Linked DNA regions of Homo sapiens: region 2 is linked to region 1. The links are contacts of gene promoters, found by promoter capture Hi-C in blood cells and fetal thymus (Javierre and others, 2016). All regions are on one chromosome and are shown on one strand. The core of a region is centred on a gene start or on the middle of the fragment in contact, and the rest is flanking DNA. Distances in the headings are between cores, read along the strand shown.

What was found. Contacts are between HindIII fragments. The CHiCAGO score rates a contact against its expected background, and 5 or more counts as called.
Region 2: a contact is called between a fragment that was not itself captured here and the fragment with the promoter of SNX9 in region 1, in 1 of 17 cell types (naive B cells). The highest score is 5.1, in naive B cells.

What each region holds. Positions count from the first base shown.
Region 1 is chr6:157,820,483-157,825,546 of GRCh38, reverse strand. SNX9 (sorting nexin 9) reads right to left here and starts at 2,301. Exons shown (of 18, transcript NM_016224.5): 1 at 2,101-2,301. The coding sequence starts at 2,112. RefSeq lists an enhancer at 1,473-1,522 and a silencer at 2,173-2,492. The HindIII fragment of the contact is 6,514 bases long and covers 1-3,006 here.
Region 2 is chr6:157,332,046-157,337,109 of GRCh38, reverse strand. It overlaps LOC105378076 (a long non-coding RNA gene), which reads right to left. Exons shown (of 3, transcript XR_943165.2): 3 at 4,160-4,830. Among named protein-coding and RNA genes, the nearest start is that of TMEM242-DT, 11 kb to the right of the region's middle. The HindIII fragment of the contact is 5,103 bases long and covers 15-5,064 here.

The DNA.
Region 1 (5,064 bases), core at 1,052-3,551:
AAGTCCTTACGCATGCTTTAAGGCTCGTGTTTAATCAAAGACACATGCAATTCGAGATTAATATACAAGAACCACTTTTCGATTTTTTGGAAAAAAATTAAGTTCAGGATTAACTATGAAATAAAAATTTCACTATATATACCTGCACTAGTTGCTAAACTGCATTCCACTTAAAGGACAGTACAGATAACATGCCTCAGTAGACCAGAGTGTAAAAACACACTGACCACCACTAGACAGATCTCTATGTCATAAACCGTCTTCTCTTTTTTCAAACGGAGTCTCGTCTTTTCTTTTTTCAAACGGAGTCTCGCTCTGTCGCCCAGGCTGGAGTGCAGTGGCGCGATCTCGGATCACTGCAACCTCCGCCTCCCGGGTTCAAGCGATTCTCCTGCCTCAGCCTCCAGAGCAGCTGGGGCTACAGGCGCGCGCCACCACGCCCAGCTAATTTCTGTATTTTTAGTAGAGACAGGGTTTCACCATATTGGCCAGGCTTGTCTCGAGCTCCCGACCTCAGGTGAACCACCCACCGCGGCCTCCCAAAGTGCTGGAATTACAGGTGGGAGTGAGCCACCGCGCCCGGCCTATAAACCGCTTTTAAGGTTGCAAGATGAGCATGTACTAGGATGTGTAACTGGTAATTTCTGGAATGTCTGGCAACAAACCTCAAAATCAAATTTCCTTAGAAATCCTTGGCCTAAGTTTTATTTTTAAAAAGGTCAACACAAAATTAATACGTTAAAAAGGTGGCAAGTTCTATCGCATTAATAAAACCAAAGCACAGCACAGGCAATAATATATTAACAAGAAGGTAATTATTTCAGTAACAGCAGCAACAGGTTCCCTGGAGGAGAATCCCCATTTCTCTACAAACGCTGCACCTAGATGGATTCAGAGCACAAAATTTACCACAGCACAACATCTAGCAGACCGAAGTCAAGCAATGCTGATCTTTCAAAGAGATTTCACATTTCTTACCATTTTCTACCTTAACACTCCACAAAAAAAGCAAACACCTATCGAAAAATAAAAAATAACGTTTCTAGCAACCCAAAAGTAGCTCAGAGATCTCAAAAACAAATAGACAAAGGGGTGCTGATGCTAACAAAGTGACATTACAAAAACTAAGTGCAAAAGTAAACCCACTCCTCACAGTGTATCACAGATCAGTTAATGGCTCAGGTATAGAGCCTCCTCCCCCAGGTCCTCCCTTCCGTGACCGTGACTTCCCCAGTGGCTATTCTACATCAAGTAACTACTGAAAACGCCCAAGGAAAAGGAGCGGGGGAGGGTGGCTTTTGAAAATTCAGGTAGCCAAGAGTGACTGCTAATTTCATAAACAATAACGTAAAACAAGCAAACCACCGCTCCTAGCCAATGACGAAGCAGGAGTCAAAGTTCCACCACGTAATTCGGGCCTGGGCCTTTTTTCAGGCAAACACGTAATCGAAAGCACAGTCATTTCCCTCTTGATATTTTATTCATGCCGGCAATGCCATTCACAATGAAAAGGTAGCAAAACAAAAGAAAAAAATAACAGCAGCGAAGGCAAAGGGGCGCGGGGCGTCCCAGCCTCGGTCCCTCCCCGGCCGCGAGCCCCCGCAGGCCGGGACGGGAAGCGCCGCGTCCTCTCCGCCGAGGTCTCGACCCCCACCCGCCCCGCGGGGGCGAGGGTCCCCCAGGCGGCAGCGGGAGGGGACGTGGGGGCGGCGGGGACGCCGGACGCCACAGAGCGCCAGTCGCCTCGGGGGCCTCCCCGGGCTGCGGGAAGTTTCCGTCCCGCGGCCCCTCCCGGCGAGCCCGCCGCAGCCCACGCTCAGGTGCAAACTTCCCAAACCTCGCTGCGCCCGGGGTCCCAACCCGCGCCCAGACCCGACGCCGTCCCCCGGTGCGATCCTGGTGGTCTGTCTGCACTGCCCGCCGCACCCATGCCCAGAAGGGACTGGCTGGGCCGCGGACCCGCCCGGGGACTCCACCGAGGAAGCGGAGTGGCCCCTCGACCACCCCTGGCCCCGACCCTCCCCGCGGCCCCGGCCCCGACCCTCTCCGCGCCGCCCCGGGCCTGAGCGACCGGCCCGGCCTGCGCCGCGCGCCCCTCACCTTGGTGGCCATGGCGGGCGGGTCCCCCGGCCCGGGACGGCCGGCTCGTCTCCCGCGCCGCGGATGGTGATTCTGAGCCGCGCAGGCAAAGGCAAGGGCGAGGGCGGCGGCTCCGGCTGGGCCCCGGCGCGGCGGCCGCTCCTCCGCCTCGGCCCCGAGTCTCGACGCTCAGGCCCAGCCGCTGGGCGCTCGGCTACTCCCGCGCCGCACGCTCCTGCAGTTCCTGAAAGTCCCCGGCTGCGCGGCCCCCGCCCCTGTCGGCCGAGCCTCCCATTTACCGCGGCGCGCGCGACGCCCGCCGGAAGCGCGCCCTGGGCCCTCGGCCGCGGCCCGGCCTCCTCGCCTCCTGGCCGCCCCCGCGCCGCGCCGCCGCCCCGGGCAGTCACCGCCGCCGCCGCCGCCGCCGCCCCCGGGCGCCCTTGGTCGAGGCTGGGAGCGGCGTCCCGCGCAGCGGCGGGGTCCGGACGGGCGCCCCAGGCCATGGCCCGCAACCCTGCGTGGCCGCCCCAGGGGAAGCGATCCGCGGCCCACAGAGCCGCTCGGGGTAGCCGAACCCCGACTCCGGTTCACGCTCGGCCGGCGCCGCACGCCGTGGCTCGGCGCTTTCCGTGCATGAGGCGGGAGGGGGCGGCAGGAACTCTCGACGCCCCGGGCAGACAGGAGCCCCGCAACCCCGCTGTCTTTGCCCCACGCCTGGGGTGTTGCGGGGTCGCCGTGCCCTTGGCCGAGTACCCTGAGTACCACATAAACAGCTGGGAAGGAGCGGAGCGATGGCTTCCTGGGCCTCTTCCTCCTGCCCGGAGGCTCCCTCAGGCCGGGGTCCTGGCTTGAAGCCCCTGGGACGGGACGGTGGGGGGTTTCGTTCTGTGACGCCCCGTTAACCTCATTCTGGAATCTTGATAAGCTTAAAAATACCGGAGGGCCCGAGAGGTTTGGGGGACAACAGGCTCTCTGAAGTGGAAACGAGGTCTCTAAAATTTTCCATCTTTCTGTCAGTGTTTCTTTCCAGAGTTGGAGATATATATATGGGTGTTATGAATAAACGAATGACTTGAATTGAGCAGCAAGATTTTTCACTCAAGGACAAAACACGACTGGAAGATGTGTCTTAATTGGCATACTAGTGGAGTGCTTTTTTATTATTATGAGGGATATATTTGTAAGAAGAGACAACTATCAAATGTAAATCTCTGGTGTTTAATGTCAAGTTTGTGTCTTCTTAAATACATTCTATTTGACCTGAGATTTCACTAGTTATATTCAATAATGGGGTTTAAAATAGATACGGTATTGCAGAATTTTCTGTGAATTTTTGTGTTTGTTGAGCTCATGGTTAAGCTATAGTCATCATAATATGCATAAATAGTTGTCTTTCTCCGTAAAAAAAAATATTGGGAGGCCAACATTCATTGACGGCCTGCTTGCTGTATACTAGGCTTCCACATCCCCATCTCATTTAATCCTTATAAGAAACATTTGAGAAACTCATTATTGTCCACTGTTTACAAAGAAGAGCGACTCAGGGATCACTTAAATAACTTGCCCATTTGGTAATACTTATTCAAATCGAAAATGACCGTAGCCTTGGACCCAGCAGCCCTCCTGGGAATTTATCCTGTCAAACACTTGTACAAGTGTTCAAAGATGTTCATCAAAGATTGTTCTGTAATAACTCCAACCAGAAAGCAACCTATGTGTTTGTTAACAGGACTGTTTCAGTAAATAAGATACATCCATTCAAACAAAAATACTAGGAAGCCCGTAAGAAAATGATAATATTCTAAGAGGTGTTAAGAAAGATAAAAAGAACATTATGTATGGTACATTTATGTAAAAAAAAAAAAAAAAAGGAAATATGTGACACATTCCTAGAAAATTTCTGAGAAAGATTCGCCAGATCCTGTTGTCAGAGTTTTTGACCATGTGTATATATGACTTCATTTAAAAACAGCAGTTATATTTTAATAAACAATGGAAGAAATAACTTGGCTAAGAGCACACACTAGTATGTGGAAAAGCCAGGATTTGAACTCAGGCAATGTCATAAGTAATGAGTTTTCCATATTCTTTTAAATGTGAAGGCTGGGTACAGCTCTCTCTGCAGCCGTTCAACAATGCATCCCTTGATAGGAAGGTGCAAAGTTAGGGGCACACCTGTGAAGACAGGCCTTTCCACATGCTCATCTGGCAAATCCTATGCAAATAGTCATCCTGGGCACCCAGCACCATGAAAGCAAGAAGACTAGAGACTTCAAGCTTTTCCCACCAGAACAATTTCATAACCCTGGTTTTATTTTTTAGAAGTAATGGTGGAGGGCTAAGGTGGAAGGATTGCTTAAGCCCAGGTGTTCAACACCAGCCTGGGCAACATAGTGAGACCTCATTTCTAGAAGTTTTTTGTTGTTGTTGTTGTTTTAAAAAGAGCAAGACTGTGAAAAACAAATGAAAAAGTACATAAACAGAGATAAACATGGCCGGGCGCTGTGGCTCACGCCTGTAATCCCAGCACTTTGGGAGGCTGCGGCGGGCGGGTCACGAGGTGAAGAGATCGAAACCATCCTGGCCAACATGGTGAAACCCCGTCTCTACTAAAAATACAAAAATTAGCTGGGCATGGTGGCACGCGCCTGTAGTCCCAGCTACTCAGGAGGCTGAGGCAGGAGAATCACTTGAACCCGGAAGGCGGAGGTTGCAGTGGGCCGAGATCGAGCCACTGCACTCCAGCCTGGGCAAGACTCCGACTCAAAAAAAAAAAAAAAAAAAAAGAGATAAACATGTGCACTTTCACAATAAGCCACACCGAAGGGATCTTGAACATAACTAAAATCTTTTTCACATTTTTAGTAATGAATTGGGTAGTATATCTCCAGTAAATACTGCTAAACTTAGGAGTTTTATTTTTATATACGTCAGTCAAAATCAACATTACTTCATGAATGTTATAGAGGAGACCCACTTTCATAG
Region 2 (5,064 bases), core at 1,317-3,816, 490 kb after region 1:
CAGAAGAACAAGCTTGAATTGCTTGGAATGTTTAGATATCCTTACTGTGAAACAAACACCTCAGCTTATCTCAGCCTGATGCCTTTAAATAATCAATTCTAATTCCCCATGTTTCAATTCCGTATTTACCAAGAAATATTTTTATAGGAATAATTTTATTTCAAAAGTAATACATGTTTATAACAGAAATCATCAGAAAATATGGGCCAAGCCCAGGGATAACATTAATGCCTTGATAGATTTTCTTCCATGCCATTTTTCACACACAGAAATATACAAATATACATATTAACAAAAATAGAAAGGTTTCTATTTTGGGGTGGGGTTCAACTTGCTGTTCACTCAATAATGAATAATGAACATCTTTGTATATCAACAAATATACCTCTGTGACAGCAGGTTCATAATTACATATTATTTTTGATGGGGGGCAATCCTATAATTTATTTAACAAAGCTCTCATGCATATTTCTTTCATTTCCATCCTTTTGCAATTATTAACAGCATTGTTGGAGACATCCTTGTAGCAAATCTTTGCAACTCCTTAACCATTTCCCTGCACAGATTCTCAAAGGGCATGGACATTCCAAAACTTCTGATACATTTTGCCAGATTGCTTTCCAGAAAATAATCCTGTAATTTTTCCAGTGTTTGCCAGTTTTATAGGTGATGAATCAATCATTAGGCTATTGTTTTAATTTGTCATGAGGTTGAAATTTTTTCATGAATTTCTTAGACACTCGAATTTCTTGTTTTTAAAATCTTCCTATTCATAATCTTTGCCCCCTTTTTAAACAATGGGATATCTAGAGCTTTCTTGCTTATTTACAGAGGTCCTTATACGAATAAGGATATGAACTTTTGTGATCCATCGTACAAATATTTTTGTTATTTGCCTTTTGCTGCAATATGGTGTTTTGCCTTAAGCTCAGAATCAGTTAGGAATGAATTTAACTTCAGGAAATAGAAAACTCAGCTCCACTCTCTTAAGGGGGACTTATTATCTCATGTAACAAGCATCTCATAGAGAGGCAGCTGTTGGACCTGATTCAGACAGTTGACAATGTGACAGCTCACGTCCCTGTCCTCTCGTAGCCCCTCCCATTTGTTACCTTATCATCATTAAATGGCCGCTGCAGAACTAGCCACCAGGTCTGTGTTCCAGGCAGAAGGAAGAAGAGTGGAGGAAGAGACAAGACCAGCCGACCTTTGCTTATGTCTTATTGGCCAGAACCGATTTCATGGCCACTCCCAACAGTTAGGAAGAGGCTGGCAAGGGCGAAGGAGGCATAGGATTAAGTGAGCAAACTTAATCTGTCTGCTGTAGAGCAGTGTTAAGACTTTATGTAGTCAAACTGACCTACATTTATTTCTTCGGTTTCATGCTTTAAAAGTTCTTCCCAACTTATTTACCAACTTATTTCGGTAGATATTCATCTATATTTTTTCCATTATTTTTATTGTTTCATTTTGTCCCCAAATCCTTTTTGAACTTTCTCCTCTGATTTGAAATACTCCACTTCTTCACTAAGCTATGAGATGCACTGAAGTGCGTTTTGGCCGGTACTATTCTGTTCTGCAGATCTAGATTCCTATTCTGTGCTATAGCTAGTACTTTAATTAATGCAAAGTACCATGCATTTTAACATTGTGAGGCAAGTCCCTCTCATCATAGTGCTTTCTCAACAAAATGTTGACCTTTCTTGAATGTTTATTATTCAGATGAATTTTGAATCATTCTAACAAGGTTTAAAAGTAATCTTATTTGAGGCAGGGCATGGTGGCTCATGCCTGTAATCTCACCACTTTGGGAAGCCCAGGCAGGTGGATCACCTGAGGTCGGGAGTTCAAGACCAGCCTGGACAACATGGTGAAACCCTGTCTCTACTAAAAGATATAAAAATCAGCCAGGCATGGTGGCCCGCGCCTGTAGTCCCAGCTACTTGGGAGGCTGAGGCAGAATCGCTTGAATCCGGGAGGCGGAGGGCGTAGTGAGCCTAGATGGCGCCATTGCACTTTAGCCTGGGTGACAAGAGTGAAACTTCATCTCAAACAAAACAAAACAAAACAAACAACAACAACAAAAGAAGATCTTATTTGGATTTTAACAGGAATTGCATTACATTTATAACATAAAGGAGAAGAATTAACAACCTGTGTGATTAAGACTTCTAGGCCGGGCGTGGTGGCTCATGCCTGTAATCCCAACACTTTGGGAGGCCGAGGCGTCCGATCACGAGGTCAGGAGTTTCAGACCAGCCTGACCAACACGGTGAAACCCCGTCTCTACTAAAAATACAAAAAAATTAGCCAGGCATGGTGGCGTTCGCCTGTAATCCCAGCTACTCAGGAGGCTGAGGCAGGAGAATCGCTTGAACCTGGGAGGCAGAGGTTGCAGTGAGCCGAGATCACACCACTGCACTCCAGCCTGGGCGACAGAACGAGACTCCGTCTCAAAAAAAAAAAAAAAAAAAAAAGGAAAAAAGAAAAAAGAAAAGACTTCTAGGGCAGAAGCATGATGGAGGCAAGTCTTCTTGTTTATGTCAGTAAAGTGTTGTGATCATCACATAGTGGATTTCTTCCCCTCTGTTTTGTATTTTAATGGGGTATAGCTAATGTATAGAAAAGTTGAAACTTTTATTAAGATTTCTTTTACAGCTGGAAACTTCACTGAATCCTCAATCATTCTAAACGTTTTTCCTTACTTATTATATGTCCAATTAATCTGCCAGAACCTCCAAGAGGGGGGTGTCCCCTGCAACTTTGATTGTTATCTGGCTTCCCATTATGGTTCTTTTGCCATATTTTTCATTATACTATATTAAGCTGGCATTCACTCATGAGCCTAATTAACGTAATTTTTCCCCTGAGAGATAAATCTACTCTTGCTCTGCTGACAAAAGAAAGTTTCAGAGACAGCGGAGCTGAGCTGGCCCATGTTGTGTGGCATAAGCCACCTTGCAAGTTCTAACCTGTCCCTCAGTGGAGGAATGTCTTCTACATCGCTTTGTACATATTAATACAAAAAAATGTATTTATGAACCTCTGTTGTAGAGGTATATTTGTTGACATACAAAGATGTTCATTTTTTGCTCAGAAAGTACCTAATTCCATTTTGGGGACATTTCAAATTTTTAAAAGTTCTCATGTGTAGAGACATGATCTACCCAATATAACTTCTCTCTGTGCCTCCTGAGAGAGGCATCAGCTTCCCAATTCTTCTCTCTCCAACCTAAATATATCTCCCTCAATGATTTCTTCTTAGATAAGCTGGCTAAGACTTCTCACCCTCCTTGTCACTCCCCTTCGCCTGCCTGCTCTTGGAGGACGCTTCCTCCACAGTGGCCCCCAGAACAGATGGGAATGAGTGGGAGAGACTTCTCCTAGGCAGACGCACAATGACCTCCACTGTTTCAGCATTATCGCCAACTAAATTGTCCATTTCTTTGTCTCAGGAAGTGCTTCAGGCCAAATCTCTCCCATCCTGCACTTGTGTATTTTCTGAAAATTTGATTTATTCCTGTTAAAGTTCATTTTATGTGTGATTGACTTTTGTTCTTGTCTAGCTAAGTAATTTTGAGACATTTCTGTCATTCATCTCATTCATTAAATAACCAAACCTTCTTGTTTTGTGCCTTACATAAAATTTAATAGCCTGCCTTCTAGCTCTAGGTCCAAGTTGCATATAAATACGTTGAAATGGCCAGGGCTGAGGAGAGACCTGTGGCGTGACCTCGGGTGTCTCCTTCCAGGTGATACATAAATCACTCTTCTTTAGGCATAGGTGGTCAATCAGCTTCAAACGTAACCAATCTTATTGATAAAGGGATGAAAGGAAGGACCTTGTCAAAGATCAGCTGGGGAAGAGTATTGTCCAGAGCTCCATGTGACCCATCTGTGATGTGGTCAGCTATGGGTGCAGCCACTACAACAGAGCAGCGCACACAGGAAAAAACCAGGACCTAGAATCAGATCTGACTCCTGGAGTGGAACACACAGTGGGCTGGGGCGAGGCTGGGGTTTCAGAGAGAATCGTTATGTTAGTAATATTAGGAAGTACCACCAGCCACTCAGCTCACGGTACCCTATGGGCTTTTGCTTCTAGACGATGTGAGTGGCACATGTGGTTATGAGAGTGGCATGTACTTCACAGGCTGCTGCGTGTGCAGGTGTGCAATGAGGTTAATGCATTAAATAAGACTATTTTACATGAGAGGGGTGTGTTTTCCCAATTCTAGCAAAGACACCATAAGGGCTTTCATGATATCCCCGTGAAAGACAGTGTGGGAGCCAGAGAAAGCAAGCCTGGATAGTACCTTGAAGGATGGCTGCGAGGGCGTTAGGAGAGGGAAGAGCAGACAGAGTGCCAGGAGAGAGGAAGTCATCAGGACATCATGTGTTGCAGATTGGGTGGACCATTGATAAATGTGGTTCCCACTAGGCAGAGCTGCTGGCCTATACATGGCTGTCTTTGGGTCTGGTGGTGACTCTGGTTCAACTCGCTTTGGCCAGGGTAAGTGGATGATGTGAGATGAAACACAGCCACCCCTGCAAATGGAACCACGCCTGGCCATTTTTCTGAGGAAATGACTAGCATTCAACACATCATCAAATTTCTCCAGTCCATGCTACTACCACAATCACAGCACAATGGGTACCTGGTTACTGTAAGAGAAACTGCGTGTCAGGTAGAATGCACTCTAAAATCAGGAGTCACAATAGACCCGCTGCTGAATCTGTAATTAGGAGAACTTGAGAGAAATACTTCTTGGATACAAGATGATCAGCTACATGACCCAAGGTCACTCTCATTTCCATAGTCATGCAACTCTGCAAAAGACAACCAAATAAGGATAAATATATAGCAGGGCTTGAAATAGTAAATCTAATTCTACTGTGTGCCAGTCTATTTTGGTCTCTCAACTATACCAATTCAGAATGTGCTTTGCGGACTGCGTTTTTCTTCCTAATTGATTGGAATGAAGTAGATTATTCATGAACATTTTGGCTTTTTCCCCTAGCAAATATCTCTCCTTCTCTCTTAGAATGTGAAGAAAAGCTCTA